7 separate regions of the Homo sapiens genome follow, and regions 2, 3, 4, 5, 6 and 7 are each linked to region 1. The links are contacts of gene promoters, found by promoter capture Hi-C in blood cells and fetal thymus (Javierre and others, 2016). All regions are on one chromosome and are shown on one strand. The core of a region is centred on a gene start or on the middle of the fragment in contact, and the rest is flanking DNA. Distances in the headings are between cores, read along the strand shown. Region 1 holds the start of FBXO33 (F-box protein 33). Region 2 overlaps FKBP3 (FKBP prolyl isomerase 3). Region 3 overlaps PRPF39 (pre-mRNA processing factor 39). Region 4 overlaps TOGARAM1 (TOG array regulator of axonemal microtubules 1). Region 5 overlaps TOGARAM1 (TOG array regulator of axonemal microtubules 1). Region 6 overlaps TOGARAM1 (TOG array regulator of axonemal microtubules 1). Region 7 overlaps DORIP1 (dopamine receptor interacting protein 1).

What was found. Contacts are between HindIII fragments. The CHiCAGO score rates a contact against its expected background, and 5 or more counts as called.
Region 2: a fragment that was not itself captured here is called in contact with the fragment with the promoter of FBXO33 in region 1 in 13 of 17 cell types (total CD4 T cells, total B cells, non-activated CD4 T cells and 10 more); the score reaches 36.3 in total CD4 T cells.
Region 3: a contact is called between a fragment that was not itself captured here and the fragment with the promoter of FBXO33 in region 1, in 10 of 17 cell types (total CD4 T cells, activated CD4 T cells, non-activated CD4 T cells and 7 more). The highest score is 18.8, in total CD4 T cells.
Region 4: a contact is called between a fragment that was not itself captured here and the fragment with the promoter of FBXO33 in region 1, in 9 of 17 cell types (total B cells, activated CD4 T cells, naive B cells and 6 more). The highest score is 20.0, in total B cells.
Region 5: a contact is called between a fragment that was not itself captured here and the fragment with the promoter of FBXO33 in region 1, in 2 of 17 cell types (naive B cells and M2 macrophages). The highest score is 12.0, in naive B cells.
Region 6: a fragment that was not itself captured here is called in contact with the fragment with the promoter of FBXO33 in region 1 in 12 of 17 cell types (activated CD4 T cells, non-activated CD4 T cells, naive B cells and 9 more); the score reaches 20.0 in activated CD4 T cells.
Region 7: a fragment that was not itself captured here is called in contact with the fragment with the promoter of FBXO33 in region 1 in 15 of 17 cell types (total CD4 T cells, non-activated CD4 T cells, activated CD4 T cells and 12 more); the score reaches 42.4 in total CD4 T cells.

The regions. Positions count from the first base shown.
Region 1 is chr14:39,431,008-39,433,956 of GRCh38, forward strand. FBXO33 (F-box protein 33) reads right to left here and starts at 1,426. Exons shown (of 4, transcript NM_203301.4): 1 at 557-1,426. The coding sequence starts at 1,155. It overlaps LOC105370461 (a long non-coding RNA gene), which reads left to right and starts at 1,432. Exons shown (of 8, transcript XR_007064121.1): 1 at 1,432-1,512. RefSeq lists silencers at 415-544, 985-1,114, 1,855-2,024 and an enhancer at 1,215-1,464. The HindIII fragment of the contact is 7,836 bases long and covers 1-2,949 here.
Region 2 is chr14:45,127,778-45,130,726 of GRCh38, forward strand. It overlaps FKBP3 (FKBP prolyl isomerase 3), which reads right to left. Exons shown (of 7, transcript NM_002013.4): 2 at 2,922-2,949; 3 at 2,017-2,124. Among named protein-coding and RNA genes, the nearest start is that of FKBP3, 5.2 kb to the right of the region's middle. The HindIII fragment of the contact is 1,105 bases long and covers 961-2,065 here.
Region 3 is chr14:45,104,546-45,107,494 of GRCh38, forward strand. PRPF39 (pre-mRNA processing factor 39) reads left to right here. Exons shown (of 14, transcript NM_017922.4): 6 at 2,906-2,949. Among named protein-coding and RNA genes, the nearest start is that of SNORD127, 4.9 kb to the right of the region's middle. The HindIII fragment of the contact is 6,663 bases long and covers 1-2,949 here.
Region 4 is chr14:45,051,130-45,054,078 of GRCh38, forward strand. It overlaps TOGARAM1 (TOG array regulator of axonemal microtubules 1), which reads left to right. Exons shown (of 20, transcript NM_001308120.2): 15 at 1,307-1,433. Among named protein-coding and RNA genes, the nearest start is that of PRPF39-DT, 31 kb to the right of the region's middle. The HindIII fragment of the contact is 167 bases long and covers 1,476-1,642 here.
Region 5 is chr14:45,033,974-45,036,922 of GRCh38, forward strand. The region is part of intron 11 of TOGARAM1 (TOG array regulator of axonemal microtubules 1); the gene reads left to right. Among named protein-coding and RNA genes, the nearest start is that of PRPF39-DT, 49 kb to the right of the region's middle. The HindIII fragment of the contact is 6,169 bases long and covers 1-2,949 here.
Region 6 is chr14:44,972,508-44,975,456 of GRCh38, forward strand. All of the region lies in intron 1 of TOGARAM1 (TOG array regulator of axonemal microtubules 1), which reads left to right. Among named protein-coding and RNA genes, the nearest start is that of TOGARAM1, 12 kb to the left of the region's middle. The HindIII fragment of the contact is 4,950 bases long and covers 1-2,949 here.
Region 7 is chr14:44,902,096-44,905,044 of GRCh38, forward strand. It overlaps DORIP1 (dopamine receptor interacting protein 1), which reads left to right. Exons shown (of 5, transcript NM_001017923.2): 3 at 1,112-1,201; 4 at 2,300-2,434. The region is part of intron 1 of LOC101927418 (a long non-coding RNA gene); the gene reads right to left. Among named protein-coding and RNA genes, the nearest start is that of DORIP1, 6.3 kb to the left of the region's middle. The HindIII fragment of the contact is 5,407 bases long and covers 1-2,949 here.

The sequences.
Region 1 (2,949 bases), core at 176-2,675:
TCCCCAATCCCTTTAACAAACACTCCTCCTCCTCTTCGGGCCTTGTTCAGTTAGCCGAAACTATTTCTGGTAAGAAAATGGCTGTTACAAAATTTCTTTTAGGCAGCGTCCTATGAGTACCTACTCCTTCCCTCACCATGAACTATTTCTAACAGATTCAGAGTCAGAAAATCGTGTTATGTGTATGTTTTGTTTCTTCCAAGGCTCACCCACAGGCCTCACCCTCCCAGTCTTAACGCTCCCATATATAAAATGAAAAGTGACAGCGCCTGTCAGCTCCATCCCACGGCCACCAAGAGGATGAATGAGTGCCTGGAAGGCGCCAGAAGTGGTGTCTGTTAAACACCCCGTCCACCACTGTTTATAAAGTATCGTGATGAGTCCCGTTATGCCTTTCCGCTCAAGGAAACCGCCTAGTTAGAACCAACACTCTCCGTCACTGAGGAAGGCAACACTGAAGTTGGCCGGGCACGTATTATGCACAGAATCTGTGTCGGGGTGCGGGGACGGAGCGACCCCCCGTTACCGGGCGGGGCGGGGCTCAGGGCAAGCCTACCTGTTGTTCCGGATGCTGACCAGCACGCAAAGCACCAGCTCCAAGTAGGTGCGCAGCACTTCCAGCCAACGAGCTGAGAGCTGCAGGGCCTCGACTTCCTCCCCTCCAGTCCCGGTGTCCGCGCCACCTCCGTCCCCTGGGCCACCGCCGCTCAGATAGTTCTCGGCGGCGAATTCAACACGCAGCTCTCGCACGAACCAGCCGCACTTGCGCATGAGGAATTCCAGCCGAGGCTGCTCCGCGGGCGAGACGCGGAGGCAGATGCGGAGCTGGGGCCACAGGGCCGGATAGAAGAGGCACTCACGCCAGTGCGAGCAGGAGGCCGAGGCCCGCAGCCGGTCGGGCGCCGGCAGAAAAGAGAAGATGTGCACGATCAGCTCGCTGGGCAGCGACGCAGCGCCCGCCGCCTGCCCGCACAGAGCCATCCGGCCCCGCCGCCGGCTGCCGGCTCCCGGCCGCCCCCGCAGTACCCGGAGCAGCCCCCGCAGCCGTCGCAGCTGCTGCAGCCGCAGCCGCCGCCACCGCGCCACCCGGGCGGCCCCGGCTCGGGTTCGAGCTCCCGGCGGTCGGGGCTGCGGCACTGACAAGAACAACAACATCAATGACTAGGAAGAAGGGGGCGGAACCGTCGTGGGTCTCGGCGGAACCAAGTAGAACACAAGTTGTGGAGAGGGGGAAAGGCCTCTGCGGGCGTGGCCTGCCGGGAGCCAGCCTCTGTCTTCTCAAACTCTACTCACGTGCGTCCGAGGCCGGCACACTGAGTAACTGCACTGCCCTCGCTCGTAAACTTCAGCGGCCCGGAAGCCTCAAGGCGTACTGTAAGGAAAAGGCAGCCCTCCCTGCGCCGGTCGGCAGAGACAGAGAAGTGGTAGGAGCTGAGTTTGACGTCGCCGCTGGTGGGAGGAGTCCGGCGCGCACCGGCGCGACTTCCGGAAGAGGGGAGCGCCCGATTGCCTGTAGGGACGGGAGGCGCGGCACGTGATCTCTGACGCACGCAGGCCGCGGGGCGGGGCGGGGCTGGGCGGGGCGGGGCGGGGCGGGGCTGGGCGGGACTGGAACCGGCACTTGGCACCCCTTACGCCTTACGGTGGCCGCTGCGCCCAGTCACATCTGTAAGTCGGTTAATTTTGGCGCTCGGTCGATGGAGGTGGCGGTACTCTGGTTTAGTGCGAAAGGTCGTCACGCTTCTTTGTAAAACGTTTCTCAGTTTGGGCTGAGGACCCTGAGCCAAAGTGGCGGCATGCAGGGTCTTTCTCAGCCATCCCACCTGCCCAGAGTAGGGTTAAGAATTCCTGAGATTGCGCCGCTGAGAGGGAGCTGGCGGACGGGCGGGCTAACCCCGGCGGGCTGTGCCGGGAGGGGCGGTGTGGGGCGTGGCGGAGGCCGCGAATGGACCTGCCCCCTCGGTCCAACCACGCAGGTGGACTTCCGCGCACTCGCTGGTGTGTGGGGAAGCAGTGAGGACAGCGTCACCCTTTGGATTCAGAGGGAGAGAAAAAAATTGGCAAAGGGATCTGAGATCCGCAGGTTGTGACCAGCCTCTTCTCCAGGGCTTGAGGAAGGGTCTCTTTTCCCTGTGCTGAGATTTAAGGCTCTCGTTGAAAAGTTCACAGTAATGACAGAGCTTTGATTTTTTTTCTTTCTTCTTCTTCTTTTTTTGCCTGGTATCCCTAACTTAGATTTTCCAAACCATGTCCCTAACTTCACCACAGCCTACTGCAAAGTAAACTCTGGTTGCAAAGAGTGGTGAAGTCAGAAAAGATTAAGTGACTTTATGTAATAATCGAGGGTTGCTTTAGGGAGGCTGCCTCTTTATGTAATAATTGAGAGTTGCTTTAGGGAGGCTGTGATGTTGGAATAGCATCGTTCTTTTGTGGTAAACACCAAGACTTTTTGGACTTTTTTTTTTTTTTTTGGTTTTAAGGAGCGGAGAATTTAATAGGCAAGAAAGAAGGAAGAAGGCTGAAGGAAGAAGCTCCCCACTACAGAGACAGACGGAGGGGGCTCCCAAGACGAAAGAGGAGACCCCCATTCTAGATGTTCTTAACCCTTTGAGGGCAAAGCTCTCCGTTTAATGCCTTGCACATATCAGGTTGCCAACAACATGGTGTGGTTTATCAATTGTGATAGGTTACTTATTCGAGCCCCTGTTTACAAGAGTTTTAGGTAATTATACCTTATTAATTTTAATGAACTCTTAGAGGGCGACCCCAGTCGTGGGTTCGGCAGGATGAAACACTACCCATTTACCAGTTTACAGACATTTAGGTCGTTTCGAGTTATGAATAATGCTGTGAACATTCATGTGCAAGTCTTTATGTGGACGTATGTTTTAATTTGTCTTGGGTAGATACCTAGGAATGAAAGTGATGGGTCGTAGGGTAGTTCTATGT
Region 2 (2,949 bases), core at 263-2,762, 5.7 Mb after region 1:
TTGCTGACTGGATAAAGAAAGAGAAGGGAGGCAAGAAATGAACAACGTTTTTAACATTCTGGGTATGAGGCCTTGCTTCGAATGCTTGAAAATGGAAAAGGAATGAACGTTTAAAATAAAAGGAAGATGTTTGAGAGCATTAGTCCTGAAGGAGACATGAGAAAGAAAAAGGGACGCAAAGATTCAGAGAAATTTTAAGCTCAGAAGAAGGGAATGGCAATGGCTAGACATTCACATTTTGGCACTACAGAACACAGGAGCATATAATGAGAAGGGAGTCCAGGGGCAGTGGCTCACGCCTGTAATCCCAACACTTTGGAAGGCCTAGGTGGGCGGATAACTTGAGGTCAGGAGTTCAAGACCAGCCCAGCCAACATGGAGAAACTGCGTCTCTATTAAAAATACAAAAATCAGCTGGGCATGGTGGCGCCTGCCTGGAGTCCCAGCTACTGGGGAGGCTGAGGCAGGAGAATCACTTGAACCCAGGAGGGGGAGGTTGCTGTGAACCAAGATGGCACCACTGCACTCCAGCCTGGGTGAGACTTTGTCTCAAAGACAAAAACAAAAACAAAAAAAGAGAAAGGAGTAAGAAGGGACTGAGAATTTGTGAGAAAATGTCAAATACTTTATGTGAGCAATGAGCAATGTGATGGAGAACTGGGCAAAGGATAGTATAAATGTTGTTGAGTAGCAATGAAACTAGAAAACATGCTTGGCTAATATTAAGCATGAATTTATACCAGGCTCAATAAAAGGTTTTATGATTATATGTTTATAATGCCTGCTCTCCAGTCCCAAAGCATGAAGACAGAGAGTAGACAACGAGGGTTAGCAAGGAAATGGACAAGAGGCTTTTGAATGTAGGACGCTAGGAAAACAGTCACAGTACATAAATGGGCTCAAGCTGGCCAGTTAAACGAAGAGGTTTTAAATAAAATGATAGAGTTTAGGACCCTCATAAGCTTGCTCTAGATTGTCTCTAGCTCTTATGAATTTACCTTTTATTTTCTTAACTCCTTAATGAAATATTATCTGTCTCCTAAAACCATCCTCATTCTAATTTCCTGGAGGGTGAACTATGTTGCCAGTTGCTTCTGAAACCCTTCAATAATAATTGCTCCATTTACCTTAGTAGCTACTCAATAGATATAACATTTATTAAATATTAATTGTGATAAACTTTAAAACTGCTTTGTGTGCACATATACCTATAAACATTAATTTGTGCTTTTTAGCCAATAGGAAAAGATCATGCAAAATTAACTAGCTTTAATCAAATAAACATCTATAATTGTATAACTGAACTTACACTTTCCACAAATACCCAAAAGCTACACTGTCATCAATAGCCTCACCTCTTTACAAGAACTAAAAATAGATTATTATCACTGATACTAAGACTGCTGGCAATGAGTGAGCTTAGATAGTAAGGTATTATCAGAAATGACAAGATTATAATCAATTCAGCTCTGCTAAGTCAGTTCTTAGTAGCTGATCTTAGCTCTACTAAGGCTGTCAATTTGCAGGAATGAATTAATCTGGTTCTTCAAACCTTTGTACCAAAGTATAAAACCTGAGTTGGGAAAACTGAGACAGATGAACCCACATCCTGCAGCCAAGCCTGGATTATTTCTATTGCCAGGGACACCATGTACATTAGAAAAAGCTAAAAATAATCAAAAGAAAATGTATTTCACTTAGTCCAACTTGGCTATAGAATCAAGGCCTTAAAATAGCTTTGAAAGCTCAGAAGGTCTGGACAGATGTGGAGGCGATATTAAATACAATATCAGAAGTGTTTCACAGAATAGGCTAATAACTGTAAAGCACTAGTTCTTAGGATTATTTCTGTCCCAGTACACCTAAGGGAAATGGCCCACTACATTAAGTGTTTGGCTCATTGAAAGTGGTCGTATTCAACCACCCTTCACTATGAGAAGTTAGTGCAAATAATAAAGAAATAAATACAATTTCTAGACTCCACATGATAAAATAAAAAAATAATTATATACAGACCTCATCCAGGGTCTCTTCAGACTTGGTTTCTTTGGGTTTATCTTCATTAAGCTTCACATTTTTTACTTGCTCAGACACTTTACTTATACTTTCAGTACCCTTAAAACGCTGTAAGGAAAATGTTGTAACATCATACCCAGGACAGGCTAAAACCAAGAAGCAACATCAAGATTTTCAGCCTCTCAATTAAATGAACATCTGCATAATAAATATAGGTTGTATAACACAATTGTGAATAAATGGTCTAAGGAAACGAAGAGCAAAGAAAGAATTTTGCTCATAATTTATTTTTAAACAATAAATGATTACCCTCAAACCAGCTTACAATATAAATTCTGAAATGAGAACCATGACCTTAGAAAGGCCAACTCATACCCAGAGATATAAGCACTATTCAAATAACTCCTAAATAAAGATTTCTTTCCTGTGGAAGATATTCATTTCATAGTAAACAAATGTGGGAGAATGTCTTAAAATGTATTTTTGTAAAGCTCAGCCTAAATCTAAACCAGACTTTAAATTCATTAGTGAAATGGAAACTTATTTTCAATATAACATTTAACATATATAATAAAACAACAACAAAATACATTTAATATACACCATATGCTAAAGTAATACGGTAATACCACTGACCTAATGAATTTATAACTTCAGTGGACTTAAGAATTTGTTGTCTCAATTTAAGCTACAAAATCCAGACCCTTTGAAAATACTGAAACATTCTGCCATACTGCAGATTAGCCTTGCTAGATTTGACAGCTAGTCCACTTATGATAACAGTTCAGAAAAATTACAGGTGGAAAAGCTCCAACACATTCAACAAATCAATGCATTTTAAACATCTTTTTTGGAAATAAAATTTCAAAAGTGATGTTCTGCTAACAGAATCTAACAATACTCACCTTAGTTTCAAAAAGATGGTTATAGGCT
Region 3 (2,949 bases), core at 323-2,822, 5.7 Mb after region 1:
TAAATAGCGTTGCCTGTGAGTTGGTCAGAAGGATAGAGGAGGAGGCGTGTGTTAAAAAAGATATTCTAAGTGGTATACAGTAATAATGGAAATATTTTTATTGTGCTTGTGCATTAGGCTTGTACCATTGGATGTACCCTGCACATTATCTCTGAGATAATGTCTAATTTAAATCCTTCTTTAGCATGAGGACTTTGTGATCTGGTCTAACATCCAGGTCCAATCCCTGGTGGTTCCTGAGCTCTAGACACACCTAAGTCTGATAACTTCCCAAAGGGCAGTGTTGTTTTATATCTTTATGACTGTAATACCTTTTCCTCTTTCCACTTGTCTAGTGGACTTATATTCCCTGAGACCACACAGTTTTGTGTCTTCTCTGTGAAATTTTCTCTGGTTCTCCTATACTGAGATACCTAGTCTGTTATTTGTGCCATGACTTTACCTACATTTATTTACATTTATATTAGCACCAGTAACACTGCTTTGAATTTATGTCTCTTATATCCTCAACATGCCTGTCAGTTTCTGAGGCTTAATTCTTTGTATCTCTAATATTTAGGAATAGAGCTCAATATATATTAGGCAGTCAGCCAGTCTTTACTGAATAAATGTTAGCTTTATAATACAAAAAACTGCTGAAAAAATACTGCTTAATATTATGCACATTTTGTCACTGTTTTAAAGAAGTTGTTACATGATGTAGCAATAAGTCATTTTAGATTTATGTACTGTATGTAGTTATTTTGAAATTTTACCTTAAGTTTTTAATTCATTTGTTGACCATTCTGAGTTTTAATATTCATCTGTAATTAAATCTGTTTTTTCATACTACATATTTGAGAGTTACTTCCTTATTTTTAATTTTTTAACATAAGGCAATCTTTGTTAATTTTTTTCCACCTGGTGCTGAAATGGGCCGTTAGCCTCTGTATCCATTGACTTTGCAAAATTTAAATTAGATTCCAATGTTATTTATATACTTTTTTTTTTTTTTTTTTTGAGGTGAAATCTCGCTCTGTTGCCCAGGCTGGATTGCAGTGGTGCAGTCTTGGCTCACTGCAGCCTCCACCTCCCAGGTTCAAGTGATTCTCCTGCCTCAGCCTCCCGAGTAGCTGGGATTACAGGTGCCCGCCCCGACACGGAGCTAATTTTTGTATTTTTGGTACAGATGGGTTTCAGCGTGTTTGCCAGGCTGGTCTCAAACTCCTGACCTCAGGTGATCCGCCCACCTCAGCCTCCCAAAGTGCTGGGATTACAGGCGTCAGCAGGCGCCTGACCTGTTTGCTTACTTTTTAGTAACATTTCTGATAGTAGTATAGAGGTGGGAATGGGAGTTGTGAGACTAGAGGCTGCAAGGTCATTTTATGTTTATCCAGCTTAAAAGTCCCGAGGTGATGAACATGTATTTAAAAGGTACAGTCAGTAGGACCTGGTATCTAATGTAAATGAAAAGCTAGGTGGAAGAGATTGAGAGATGTAGTGGTTGACAGTACCATTAATCAATATTAGAAATGCTGAGGGTGGCGGGGCACGGTGGCTCACACCTGTAATCCCAGCACTTTGGGAGGCTGAGGCGGGTGGATCACCTGAGGTCAGGAGTTCGAGACCAGGCTGCCAACAAGGTGAAACCCCGTCTCTACTAAAATTAGAAAAATTAGCTGGGCGTGGTGGTGCGCACCTGTAATCCCAGCTACTTGGGAGGCTGAGGCAGGAGAATTGCTTGAACCCGGGAGGTGGAGCTTGCAGTGAGCCAAGATAGAACGATTGCACTCTAGCCTGGGCAACAGAGCAGGACTCCATCTCACACAAGAAAATAAAGAAAGAAATACTGAGGGTATTCATTTTCAGATGAAGATGCCATACTTATTTTAAAATATTTCATATTTGAGGTTCCAAAGGTATATTCAAATTGTGATAGTGTAGATATTTTAGCTCCTCAACCTGGTATTTTTGATTACAATTTGTATGTATACAAATTATTGCATGTTTTTATAAAATAGTGAAATGATATTTTTTTCAAAAATCTTTTTATAGATTAGCTTAAAACTAATCCACATTTCTTTGTGCAGAGTATTGGCAGTTGTATATGCTAATGTGATTAGGAGAAAGGTTTGGACTTGTGTTGTAGTTTTGAGAGTCATCATGGTATACTTATTTCAAGCTGTATGAATGAGATTGGCCAGAAGTATGTATTAATAAAAATAGATGAGAACCAAATGGAGAGTGGAATACTTGGGTATAGTAGCATTTAGGGCAGGTAAGAAGGGGAATAAGACATAGAGCAGCAGTCAGAGGCTTGGAGGACCATACTACAAAACAAGTGTCCATTTAATTTTATATATGAGGTAATTGATAATCTTAATTGGGCAGTTTCATTGGATTTTTGCGTACTCACATGTGGATGAGGAGTATTTGGGAGGTGGGAAGGAAATGCTATATTTGTTGGTTATTTACAAGTGATCATTTAGAATTTAAATATGGATTACAGTATTTAATTTTACTGTAACTTTTATGTCTTTGTAGTAAAATAGATTCTATGACACACGAATAGGTATTATCATCTTATTTTACAATTGAGGAAACTAAGATTTAGAGAAAAGAAAACCTTCCCTAGTCAGATAACCAGTAACAGACAGAACTGAGGTTTGAATTTATGCCCGTCCATGCCTTCTCCATTCCACTGTAAAGGTAGGAAGAAATTGAAGATGTCTATAGACTGTTTTATCATATGGTAGTGTTTTATCATATATGGTAGGATTTTACTATAGAAAAGAAGGAGAAAAGGTATGATATTTTGGTTTCTTTTTTAAATCAAATCCTTTGAAAGAGTAGTATATAGTAGGAATCTCAATATGAGATCTAAAATTATGATTCAAATACATATATTTTTATTGTCTTCCTTTAGATTTAAAGAACATGTACAGAATAATTTGCCTAGAGATCTTTTAA
Region 4 (2,949 bases), core at 309-2,808, 5.6 Mb after region 1:
GATTATTTTATAATTCATATAAATAAGAAAACCTAGTTTTTGAGATTATTACCTGTATTAACATATCAGTCACAATTTTATCAACTAACCTTGGGTGTATTTTAGGTAGTAAAGAATAGGATTCTGAAGAATCAGAACCCTGGTAAGTTTTGGCTAGGGAAAAACAGAGAATGAGAAATACAGGACCTAGGGAGGGTTGACTCAGGCCAGAACATCTGGCCCTTAGGTGGACAGCAAATGGTCAATGGGCAAGGAGCCCAGGATGGAGGAAAACTTCACAATTCTCCCAAATGCCAGCATTGATATGGACCTTGGGGTGCCTGAAAAATAGAATCAAAGCTTTTGTCTCTCCATCTGGCACATGGCAGAAGGATTTGAAGACAGTGACTTTAAAGGGGGATTATGGGAGCATCCCAACAGATGCTTTTTTTTTTTTTTTTTTTTTTTTGAGACGCAGTCTCACTCTGTTGCCCAGGCTGGAGTGCAATGGTGTGATCTCGGCTCACTGCAACCTCCACCTCCTGGATTCAAATGATTTTCCTGCCTCAGTCTCCTGAATAACTGGGATTACCTGAGCACGCCAACACATCTGGCTAATTTTTGTATTTTTTTAGGAGAGACGGGGTTTCATCATGTTGGCCAGGCTGATCTCGAACTCCTGACCTTGTGATCCACCTGCCTTGGCCTCCCAAAGTGCTGGGATTACAGGCGTGAGCCACTGTACCTGGCCACAGATGCTTCTTAACTTACAATGAGGTTATATCCCAATAAACCCATCATGAATAGGAATTATCATAAGCCAAAAGTGCATTTAAACACCTAACCTACCAAACATCATAATGTAGCCAAGCCTTACCTTAAACATGCTGAGAACACTTACATTAGCCTACGCTTAGACAGAATCATCTGGCAACACAGTACATTGTAGAGTATGGTGATCATATGGCTGAGTGGGAGCTGTGGCTCGCTGCTGCTGCCCAGCATCTTAAAAGAGTGTCATACTGCATATGACTAGCCATGGAAAAAGTCAAAATTCAAAGTATGGTTTCCACAGAATCATATCTCTTTCACACTATTATAAAGTTGAAAAATTATAAGTCAAACCGTTGTAAGTCGGAGACCATCTGTACCCTCTAGGGTATCCTATACAGTTAGGATATCTATATTTTCATGGTTATTTAATATAGGGATGGTAATCTTGATGTTTGATAGGTGTTTTTTTTCTATTGAAACAATGCATCTAAGGTCAGCAACTGAGCTTATTAATGTCTAAAAAGTAATATACCTGTTTTTCAAATACTCACAGGTATTATGGTCGAAAGATGCTGTTCTTCATGATGTGTCATCCTAACTTTGAAAAAATGCTTGAAAAGTATGTCCCATCTAAAGATTTGCCATATATTAAGGACTCTGTTAGAAACTTACAGCAAAAGGTATGTGGGAAAAGTTTGTTTTATAAACAGCTTTATAAGCAAAGCTTGTTTTTACATCCAGGTAAAGGATAGGAATAATTATTTATTTGATTATTTCTCTGTTAATCATTTGGACTATTGGACTATATCTGCAATAGCATTTCAACAATTACAATACTAAGTAGACATACATATTGTCAAGCCTTGGAAGTAAATGTTTATTGCACAGAAGCTTGATGTTTGGTAGAATATAGTTTGGCTTATTGGAGTTAACAAGACATGGGTTTGAATTGCAGCTCTAACAGTTAGCAACTGTGTAACTTACACATGCCTCTTCATTTCTCTAACTAGAATTCTCACTTTATAAAATGAGGATAATAATGTTTACCATGTTTAGTCCCTGCTTTATTTACCTTGCATGTCCCACTATTAGAGCTATTACCACACTGCAGAACATTTTTAGGGAGCTCCTTGAGGGTAAGTGCAATGTCTTTTTTTTTTTTTTTTTTTTCTTTTGAGACAGAGTCTTGCTGTGCCACTAGGCTAGAGTGCAGTGGTGTGATCTCGGCTCACTACAACCTCCACCTCTTGGGTTCAAGCGATTCTCCTGCCTCAGCCTCTCGAGTAGCTGGGATTACAGGTGCCCACCACCACGCCCAACTAATTTTTTGTATTTTTTAGTAGAGACGGGGTTTCACCATGTTGGCCAGGCTTGTCTTGAACTCCTGACCTCAGGTGATCCGCCTGACTCGGCCTCCCAAAGTGCTGGGATTACAGGCGAGAGCCAATGCGCCCAGCCATGCCATGTCTTATTTGTCCTGGTAGATAATGGGAATTCAGTAATGTCTGATAAATGAGTGACTGAGAGAATACCAAGTGAAATAAAATATGAAAAGTAATCTATTTACATATTAATTTAAAAATATGTTTAATTTAATAAAGTAAAATTTTTCTATTGTAATTTATGTCATTTCTCTCTGATGACCTTGGGATAAGGACTCACTTGTGAAGGAATAATATTACAAAAATAATGTAGCAATAGACATTTTAGAGCATTTTTTTCTGCCCGTTGAGCCTGAAGGTTTCAGCTTAGTTCATATTAGAACTTATTAATATAACCATGCAAAAAAAAATAATCTGACTAAAATGAAGCAGATTGCATCTGTGAGTCTTTCCAGTACAGGAAAAGTTTTAAATAGTTCTCATCAAAATGTTTATTCTCACACTCCTAATGTTGCATAGGAACAACAGTGTTCAGTGTTTATGGACTGTGTTCATATATTCTACATAGATTTTAAGCTTTAAGAAGAGTAGTTACGAAATACAGCATATTATTATTATTATTATTATTATTTTGAAACAGAGTCATGCTCTGTCGCTCAGGCTGGAGTGCAGTGGCATGATCTTAGCTCACTGCAACCTCTGCCTCTGGGTTCAAGGAATTCTCCTGCCTCAGCCTCCCAAATAGCTAGGATTACACCACCATGCCCAGCTAGTTTTTGTGCTTTTAGTTGAGACAGGGTTTCCCCATGTTGGC
Region 5 (2,949 bases), core at 280-2,779, 5.6 Mb after region 1:
TAAAACCTTGTCTGTACTAAAAAACGCAAAAAATCAGCTGGTGCATGGTGGCACACGTCTGTAGTACCAGCCACTTGGGAGGCTGAGGCACAAGAATCGCTTGAACCTGGGAGGCAGAGGTTGCAGTGAACCGAGATCATGTCACTGCACTCCAGCCTGGGTGACAGAGTGAGACTCCATCTCAAAAACAAAGAAACAACAACAAAAAAACAATAGTTTTCAAGACACTGTTCACCAGGCTATGGAAAGATGTTGATCTCTGAGAGACAGGAAACAAACCAGGTGAGCCCTACAATTACCCAGCTTGCTTTCTGGAGAGAGTTTCCAGGTTGCAGCTAAAGGGAGGGAAAACAGGCAGATAGCATCAGAGATGGACATGGTGCTGAGAGTTTGAGGAGGCCATGGTGACTAGACTTTGCAGGACAGAATGCCAGATAGAGCTCCACAGAGAGCTCCAGAGATCATAAGAGGATTTTACTCAAATGTTTAGCAGACAACTGGTCGGGGCATGCATGTAAATACATTTCCTGAGGCCAGAACAAGAACCACTCAAAAAAGTTACAAGGAACAATGTCAGGAGCATATACAATGTTAATAATACTTCCTGTTCCCACCAGCAGAGTGGAAAAGTTCATAATTCACAGGGCATTGGGTAGAATACTCAGAGTTTTGCTCCATAGTGTAGTAAAATAAACCATAGACTGAATGTTAGTTTGGTTCCTACCCAATGAAGTTTAAAAGCAAGGCCTAAGATGATCAAACATTTGATCCTTATTTGAAATACATTTTCAAATAACTATATCCCAGAACAAAGCTGAAGAATATTTATAGGAATACAAAAATAGCTAAAGTGAAATTACCAGGCATGCAGAGAAGCAGGAAAATATAACCAATAGTGAGAAGAAAAAAAGCCAAGTGAAACCAATGCAAAAATGACACAGGTGATAGAATTAGTAGACAAAGACATTGTAACTGTAACTACTGCATGCATTAAAGAGGCTGGAGGAAAGGTTGAGCAAGTAAAGAGATATAATATATATAAGAAACCCAAAACTAATATCTACAGATGAAAGCTATAATGTCTGAGATAGGAAATACACTGGATGAGATTAATAGGTTAGACATTCCAGAAGAAAAGATTAGTGAAGTTGAAGACGTAACCATTGAAACTATTCAAAATGAAACAATGAAGCCTGACCAATAAGGCAAAATCCTGTGTCTACCAAAAATACAAAAATTAGCTGGGTGTGGTGATGCACACCTGTAGTCCCAGCTACTGGGGCGACTGGGGCAGGAGAATCGCTTAAACCCGGGAGGCGGAGGTTGCAGTGAGCTGAGATCGTACCACTGCACCCAGCCTGGGCAACAGGGTGAGACTCTGTCTCAAGTAAAAAAAAAAAATCAAAATGAAACAATGAGAGAAACAAGACTGAAAAAAAAGTCCAAAAAATCTGTCAATTGTGGGACAACTTCAAGTTATGTGTAATTGGAGTTACCAGACAGAGAAGGAGACAGAAAAGAATATTTGTAGAAAAAAATGGACAAAATTTGTTCAAATTGGATGAAAACTATAAACCCAAAGATCTAAGAAGTTCAGTGAACACCAAACACAAGAAACATGAAAAGAAATATTTCAAAGGAGATATAATCAAAAGGCCTAAAATTAGGGATGGAGAAAATCTTAAAAATAGCTAGGGGCAAGACATTACATATAGAACAAAGATCAGACTACTCATCAAATACACTGCAAACCAAAAAACAGTTCAGTGAGATCTTTAAAGTACTGAAAGGAAAAACAAACTGTCAATCTAGAATTCTATATCCAATGAAAATATCTTTCAAAAATAAAAGTAGTGGGCCAGGCATGGTGGCTCACACTTGTAATCCCAGCACTTTATGAGGCCAAGCCAGGAAGATTGCTTGAGCCCAGAAGTTAAAGACCAGCCTTTGCAATATAGCAAGACCTCATCTCTAGAAAAAAAAAAAAAAAGAAAGAAAAAAAATTTAAAATCTGGATGCAGTGATGTGTTTCTGTAGTCCCAGCTAATCAGGAGGCTGAGGCAGAAGGATTGCCTGAATCCAGGGGTTCGAGGCTGCAGTGAGCTGTGATTGTGCCACTACACTGCAGCCTGAGCAACAGAACAAGACCTTGTCTCTAAAAAAAAAAAAAAAAAAAAAAAAAAAGTTTTAAAAGAAGCAAAATGTCTGACAGTTTGATACAAAGGCCCAAAGGGAAGACATGGCAGTATTGCTTTACCAAGGCAACAAAGGAGATAAAATATAACTATAAAAATAATTATAAAGAAAAGATGGGACAAATAGAAAACAAACAGCAAGATGATAGACTTAAACCCAATCATCTAATCACATTAAATGTAGATGAACTAAACACCCTAGTGAGATTAGATTAAAAAGCAAGACCCAACTATATGCTACCTATAAGAAATTCTGTTTAAATATATAGATACAAATAAGTTAAAAGTAGAGATTCAAAAAGATGTATACCATGCTAACACTAATCAAAAGATAGATTACATGGCCATATTAATATCAAAGTATATTTCAAAGCAAAGAATATTAATGAGAGTATTTATTTTATATTGTTATGTAACAAATTGCCACAAACTCAGTGGATTCAAACCACACAAATTGATTAACTCTCAGTTTTCTGGGTCAAGAGATCAGATATAAGTTAACTCAGCTCTTTGCTCAAAATACCACTAGGCTGAAATCAAAGTATCAGCCAGGGATGTGATCTCTTCTTTCAATTTTCTTAGAAGCTCATTGTTTGGAAGAATTGTCTTCCTTGTAGATGTGCAACTGTGGTTTTCATTTTTGTATTAGTCCGTTTTCATGCTGCTGATAAAGACATATCCAAGAGGAGAAGAAAAATAGGTTTAATTGGATTTAACAGTTCCACATGACTGGGGAGGCCTCAGAATCATGGCG
Region 6 (2,949 bases), core at 178-2,677, 5.5 Mb after region 1:
TTCTTGTAATTCTATCAGTCTTTGCCTCATTTAATTTGACACTGTTGTTGGGCACACATTAAGAATTGTTTTGTTTTCTTGGAATATTAATCCTGTTGCTATTATGTGAGGCCCCTCTTTATCCCTGATAACTTTTCTTGCTCTGAAGTCTGCTGTGTCTGAAATTAATATAGCTACTCTTGATTTCTTTTGATTAATGTTAGCATGGTGTACCTTTCTCCATCTCTTTACTTTTAATTTATATCTATCTTTATATTTAAAATGGGTTTCTTGTAGACAGCCTATATAGTAATTACTCATTTAAGTTCCTTGATAGGCTCTTGGAAACCGTGACTTTCAGTGAAATGACATACAGTAAGTCCTCAAATAACGTTATTTTGTTCAACATCATTTTGCTATAATGTTGATGAGGAAAAAAATTGGTTTTGTTATACATCGTTGTGCTTAAAGTGGCAGTCTTGAATAACTTATCAGTAACATTAAGTGAGAACTTACTGAACTTGGGTTTTGTTTTTTGACCACTCTGACAATCTGTCTTTTAATTGTTAGACATTTAAAGAGTTTATTGATATAGTTGGATTAATATCTACCATAATTGTTGTTTTCTATTTGTTGCTCATGATCTTTGTTCCTGTTTTTGTCTTCTGTTTTTTGGCTCCTTGTGGTTTTAATTGAGAATTTAACATGATTCAGTTTTCTCTTCTTTCTTAGCATATCAGTTATGCTGCTGCTCCTTTTTTTTTAAATTACTTTTTTTTAGTAGTTTCCCTAGAGTGTGTAATACACATTTACAACTAACTAATCCACGTTCACTTTCAGTAACAATATACTGCTTCACAGGTAACCCAAGTACCTTATAATAACAGAATATTTGTAATTTCTTCCTCCCTGTCACCTGTTTAATGCTGTCATTCATTTCATTTATACATAAACACACAGACACACACATAAGCATACATAATCAAATACATTGTTGCTATTATTATTTTGAATGATTTTCTGTTAGATCTGTTAAAAATATGAAAAATAAGTTTTTTTTTTAACCTTTACTTATTCTCCTCCAGTGTACTTTCTCTCTCTCTCTCTCTCTATATATACATATATATATATCTCTCTCCAGGTTTTTGACCTATATAATTTTCCTTTTCTCTGAAAAACTTCAATGTTTCTTACAAGGCAGGTCTTACTAACAACAACTTCTTTCAATTTCTGTTTGTCTGAGAATGTCTTTATTTTTCTTCACTTGTGAAAGATTATTTCCCAGGGTATAGACTTCTAAATTGATGGGTTTTTTTTTTCTCTCAATACTTTAAATATTCCAATCCACTTTCTTCTTCTTTGTATGGTTTCTGAGAAGTTAGATGTAATTCTTATCTTTGCTCCCCTATAGGTAATGTTCTGTTTTGTTTTGTTTTTCCTTTATCTTCTTTCAGGATTTTTCTTTATTTTTGATTTTTTGTAGTTTGAAGATGATATGCCTAGGTGTAGTTTTTCTGACCTTTCTCCTGGTTTTTCTCTGAGTTTCCTAGATCTGTGGTTAGGTTTCTGACATTAATTGGGGGAAATTCTCAGTAATTATTGCCTCAAATATTTCCTCTATTCTTTTCTATATTCTCTTCCTAGTAATCCCATTATACATATGTTACACGTTTTGTAGTTTTCCCACAGTTCTTGTATATTCTCTTCTCTTTTTTTCAGGCTTTTTTCTTTCAGTTTTGGAAGTTTTTATTGTCACATCCTCAAGCTCAGAGATACTTTCCCCAGCTATGTCCAGTTTACTAATGAGCCCATTAAAGGCATTCTTTCTTTCTGTTACAGTGTTTTTGATTTCTAGGTTTCTTTTGTGTTCCTTCTTAGAAGTAACGCTTCATGACTTATATTATCCTTTTGTTCTTACATGTTGTCTTTTTTCATTATAGCCCTTAGTATATTAATTATAGTTTTAGAAAATTCTGGTATGTTAACTTCAACATTCCTGCCATATCCAATTCTAGTTATGATGCTTGTTCTGTCTTTTCAGACTTTGTTTTTCCCTTTTACTGTGCCTTATTATTTTTTGTTGATAGGTAGACATAATGTAAGTAAAAGGAACTGTGGTAAATAGTTTTTTAGTAATATACTGTTAAGGTGTGGGAGGTGGGGAAGTGATCTATAGTGCTTTAATTACACTTTTGATGAGCGTAATTTTATGGTTGGCATAAAATATCTTAGCATTTTAAAAAAGAGAATTCTTGATGCCTTTACCCCTTTCGGTGTGTGTGTCTGGAAAAAAAAGTTAATACAACATTCCTGCCATATCTGATGCTGGTTCTGATGCTTGTTCTGTCTCTTCAGACTTTGTTTTTACCTTTCACTGTGCCTTATAAATTTTGTTGACAGGTAGATGTGATATACTAAATAAAAGAACTGTGGTAAATAGGTCTTTAGTAATGTACAATTAAGGTGAGGGAGGGGGGAAGTGTTCTGTAGTGCTTTAATTACACTTTTGATGAGTGTAATTTTATGGTTGGCTCTCCCAATTTCTTTAGCATTTTAACAAAGAGATTCTTGCTTCCTTTACCCCTCTCTGTGTATATTTTTTATATACCAGAAAGCAATAATTTTGCTCCAAATTGCTAAATGATTAAAAACAGAATTTTCCCCTTTCTGTGTATGTTTTCATTAGCCACTTTGACACAGATCAACTGAAAACATCCAATAACTACATTATACTGGAATGAATGAACTCAATGGATGCCCCCCCACCAGGTGAAAGCCTAAACATAATATAAAAATAAATACTGAGTTGAAGCAAGTTTTATTTTCTGTTAGAGGGAATAGCTATGTCTAATATAAGTTAATAGATTGTATTAGTTTTAGTGTCTTTGAAGGGCAGTGTGCATCTTGTTAAAGGACTTAGGTTCCATATTTTCTCCATATTCCATATTCTTTATTTCCTAAACCACCGTT
Region 7 (2,949 bases), core at 165-2,664, 5.5 Mb after region 1:
TACATTTCTCTGAAATACACTGTCTATTTTCCTGCATTGCTAATTTGAAATATCAATCAATGGAAATAATTATCAAGTCATAAAGACAACTCAGAAGTGTTGCAGTGATCATAGCTCACTGCAGCCTTGAACTCCCGGGCTCAAGTGATCCTCCTGCCTCATGGCTCACTACTTCAGCCTCTCCAGTAGCTGGGACTACAGGTATATGCCACCATGCCCAGCTAATGTTTTATTTATTTTTTTATTTTTTGAGACAGGGTCTCACTCCATCTCCCAGGCTGAAGTATAATGGTGTGATCACAGCTCACTGCAACGTTGACTTCCTGGGTTCAAGAGATCCTCCTGTCTCAGCACCCCCAAGTAGCTGGCACCAGGGGCATGTACCACCATGCCCGGCTAATTTTTGTATTTTTTTTTAGAGATAGGATCTTGCTGTGTTGCCCAGGTTGGTCTCAAACTTCTGATTCACCCACCTCAGCTTCCCAAAGTGCTGGGATTACAGGCGTGAGCCACCACACCCAGCCTAATATCTTGTTTTTTAAAAACTAGTTTCATCTGTAAATATTTTGAAACTATAATGAAATATTTATAATTCTATATTTTATACTATTGAATAAAATATTTTTCATCATACTCTATAACTTTTAAGTTTTTGCCTACTTTTTAAAAAATCCTATATTTAAAGCAACCTCTGAAGTAATGTAGAAAAAAAGTTTTTTTTAACGGATCAGGTACTTGAGGCCAAGAATGATTATTACTTACATTTAATCAGGTAACTAATCAGCTGCTCCTCTGATTCTGGGTCCTAGTTCCTTCCCACGAGACCAGATTGCCTCTTTTGAATCTTCTCACAAATGTTTTAAATTATCATAGCAGCAACTGGATATATCAGGATTGTTTATACAAAAATATGTTTCTTTGAAAATTTCATAATTAGTGTTTGAGTTCAACTGGTTTCTATACTATCTGCAAGAAATTCTGAATGTGTCATAAAGGTTATACTTGGTATAACTGGTTTTGCTAATAAAGGACTGAGCTGTAAAATTTGTTATAATATATTAAGATATAAAATGTTGAAGCAGTTCTTACATGCATTTAATAATTATTATAGTCCTCCCCAAGAAATTCCACATGGAAACTTGATAAGACTGGCTGTGAATGAGTTATTCTGTTCCAAGATTGAACTGTGTGAAGAGCATGGGTGAGTATACAATAGACATTTAAAATGACAGTATGTATGTGTTTATAAGGAAACCTAGGCAGATGTGCTCCTTGAAGTACTTTATGAATCTTATTAACCTAGTTTACTATGACATTTTACAGTGTTTTTGTTACGGAGTATATCACTACATAGAATATGGTACTACAGCTGATTGATGAATACAAAGCAAATACCTTTTCTTTTTTCCCCCCCCACTGCTGAGTAGGTACAATAAAACCTTGGTTAACTGGAACCCAGCTAATTGGGACCCTCAATTATCTGGATTTTTTTCTGCACTCTCCATTTAGGAGAAAGAGGTAAATGACAACTAAAAAACTTAACCTAGTAAAAGTTGAGAGAAGCAGAACATATTCATCCCAATCTCTTAAAATTTTCTGTGACTACATTATTGTATAATGAGAATTAATATTTAGAAGGATGATCTTATTGCTGATTAATTACAAAAGGAAAGGTAAAAATATGTTCTGTTAATTGTACCTATTAAGTCCAGAAAGTGAACGAATATATTGTAGCAACAAATACTGAAACAGATGGTTTTCTGGTTAATTTGGTTTAGTTAATAATGTTTGTTAACCAGAATACTGTACCCTGAGCATTCCGGTTAATCAAGATTTTACTGTATAATTCAATATGTTATATTCTGATCCATATACTTAATACCTCATAATATGAGGAAACAATTTGTTCATGCTTATAGTCGAGTCTAATGGCAAAAGGAAGCAATTAGAGTCATATTTTTCCCCTCTCTGCCATTATTTGAAACCAGCATATAGAGTGAAATATAAAAGCGTTTGTATCAGTTCTGCAGAGTTATGCTTTCATAGGCTTATACAGAAATAGCCAGCATTTCCTGGAGTTTTAAACGTGTCATTTCTAGTGTAAGGAACACAGCTTATAAACTTCTGGAACTATTAGGTGATATAAGGTAGTAATTACCCTATAACTATAGGTATTAACCATTACCTACACCTATAATAGATAATTATAAGAAAATTAAAGTCATAAAGACAACTCTGAAGTGTTGAAAGCCAGCTTTGTCCCAAGTGTAATAATGTTCATGCCTGTTTTCTATTTTAGGTGTGGTGGCTTAAGAGAATTTTCCCAACGAATTTTCTGCCATGGGGCACCCCCTTTTGTTGTCTTAAATATGCAACATTGGAAATCTGAAGATCTGGCGTATGTACCCTATTACTTGGATTTGTCTGATCACAAGTAGGTGTTTTTGTTGTTGTTTCTTTATAAAACTAATAAAAAAAATTTATCCTGTTATATTATGATTTTGACTAGCCCTTAAGAGATATTGTTGAAAACAATCATATCTGTCTCTAAATTTATGTATTCTGAATAGAATCAGAATTTATTACAGAGAGTCAGTTACTAGCAGTGCACATAGTGGGTAGGTGTGTGGACTACAGAATAGACAGAATTGGGTTCAAATCCTAGCCCCATCTTTTATAAGTTAACCTTGGGCCAACAACTTAACCAGTTTACATGTCAGTTTTCTTATCTATAAAACACAGATGATGGTATCAACCTAGTGCAATTATTGTAAAGATTTAATAAGCACATACTAAGTGTTTAAGATAGTACCTGACACATAATACTGGATAGTATAATAATAGCACAGTATTTTGTGCCTGACACATACTGGCTAATACTTGTATTTCAAGTCAGAGAAGTTCGTAGTAGTATGCAGGTGGTCATAATTTAAACATAAAATGTTACTT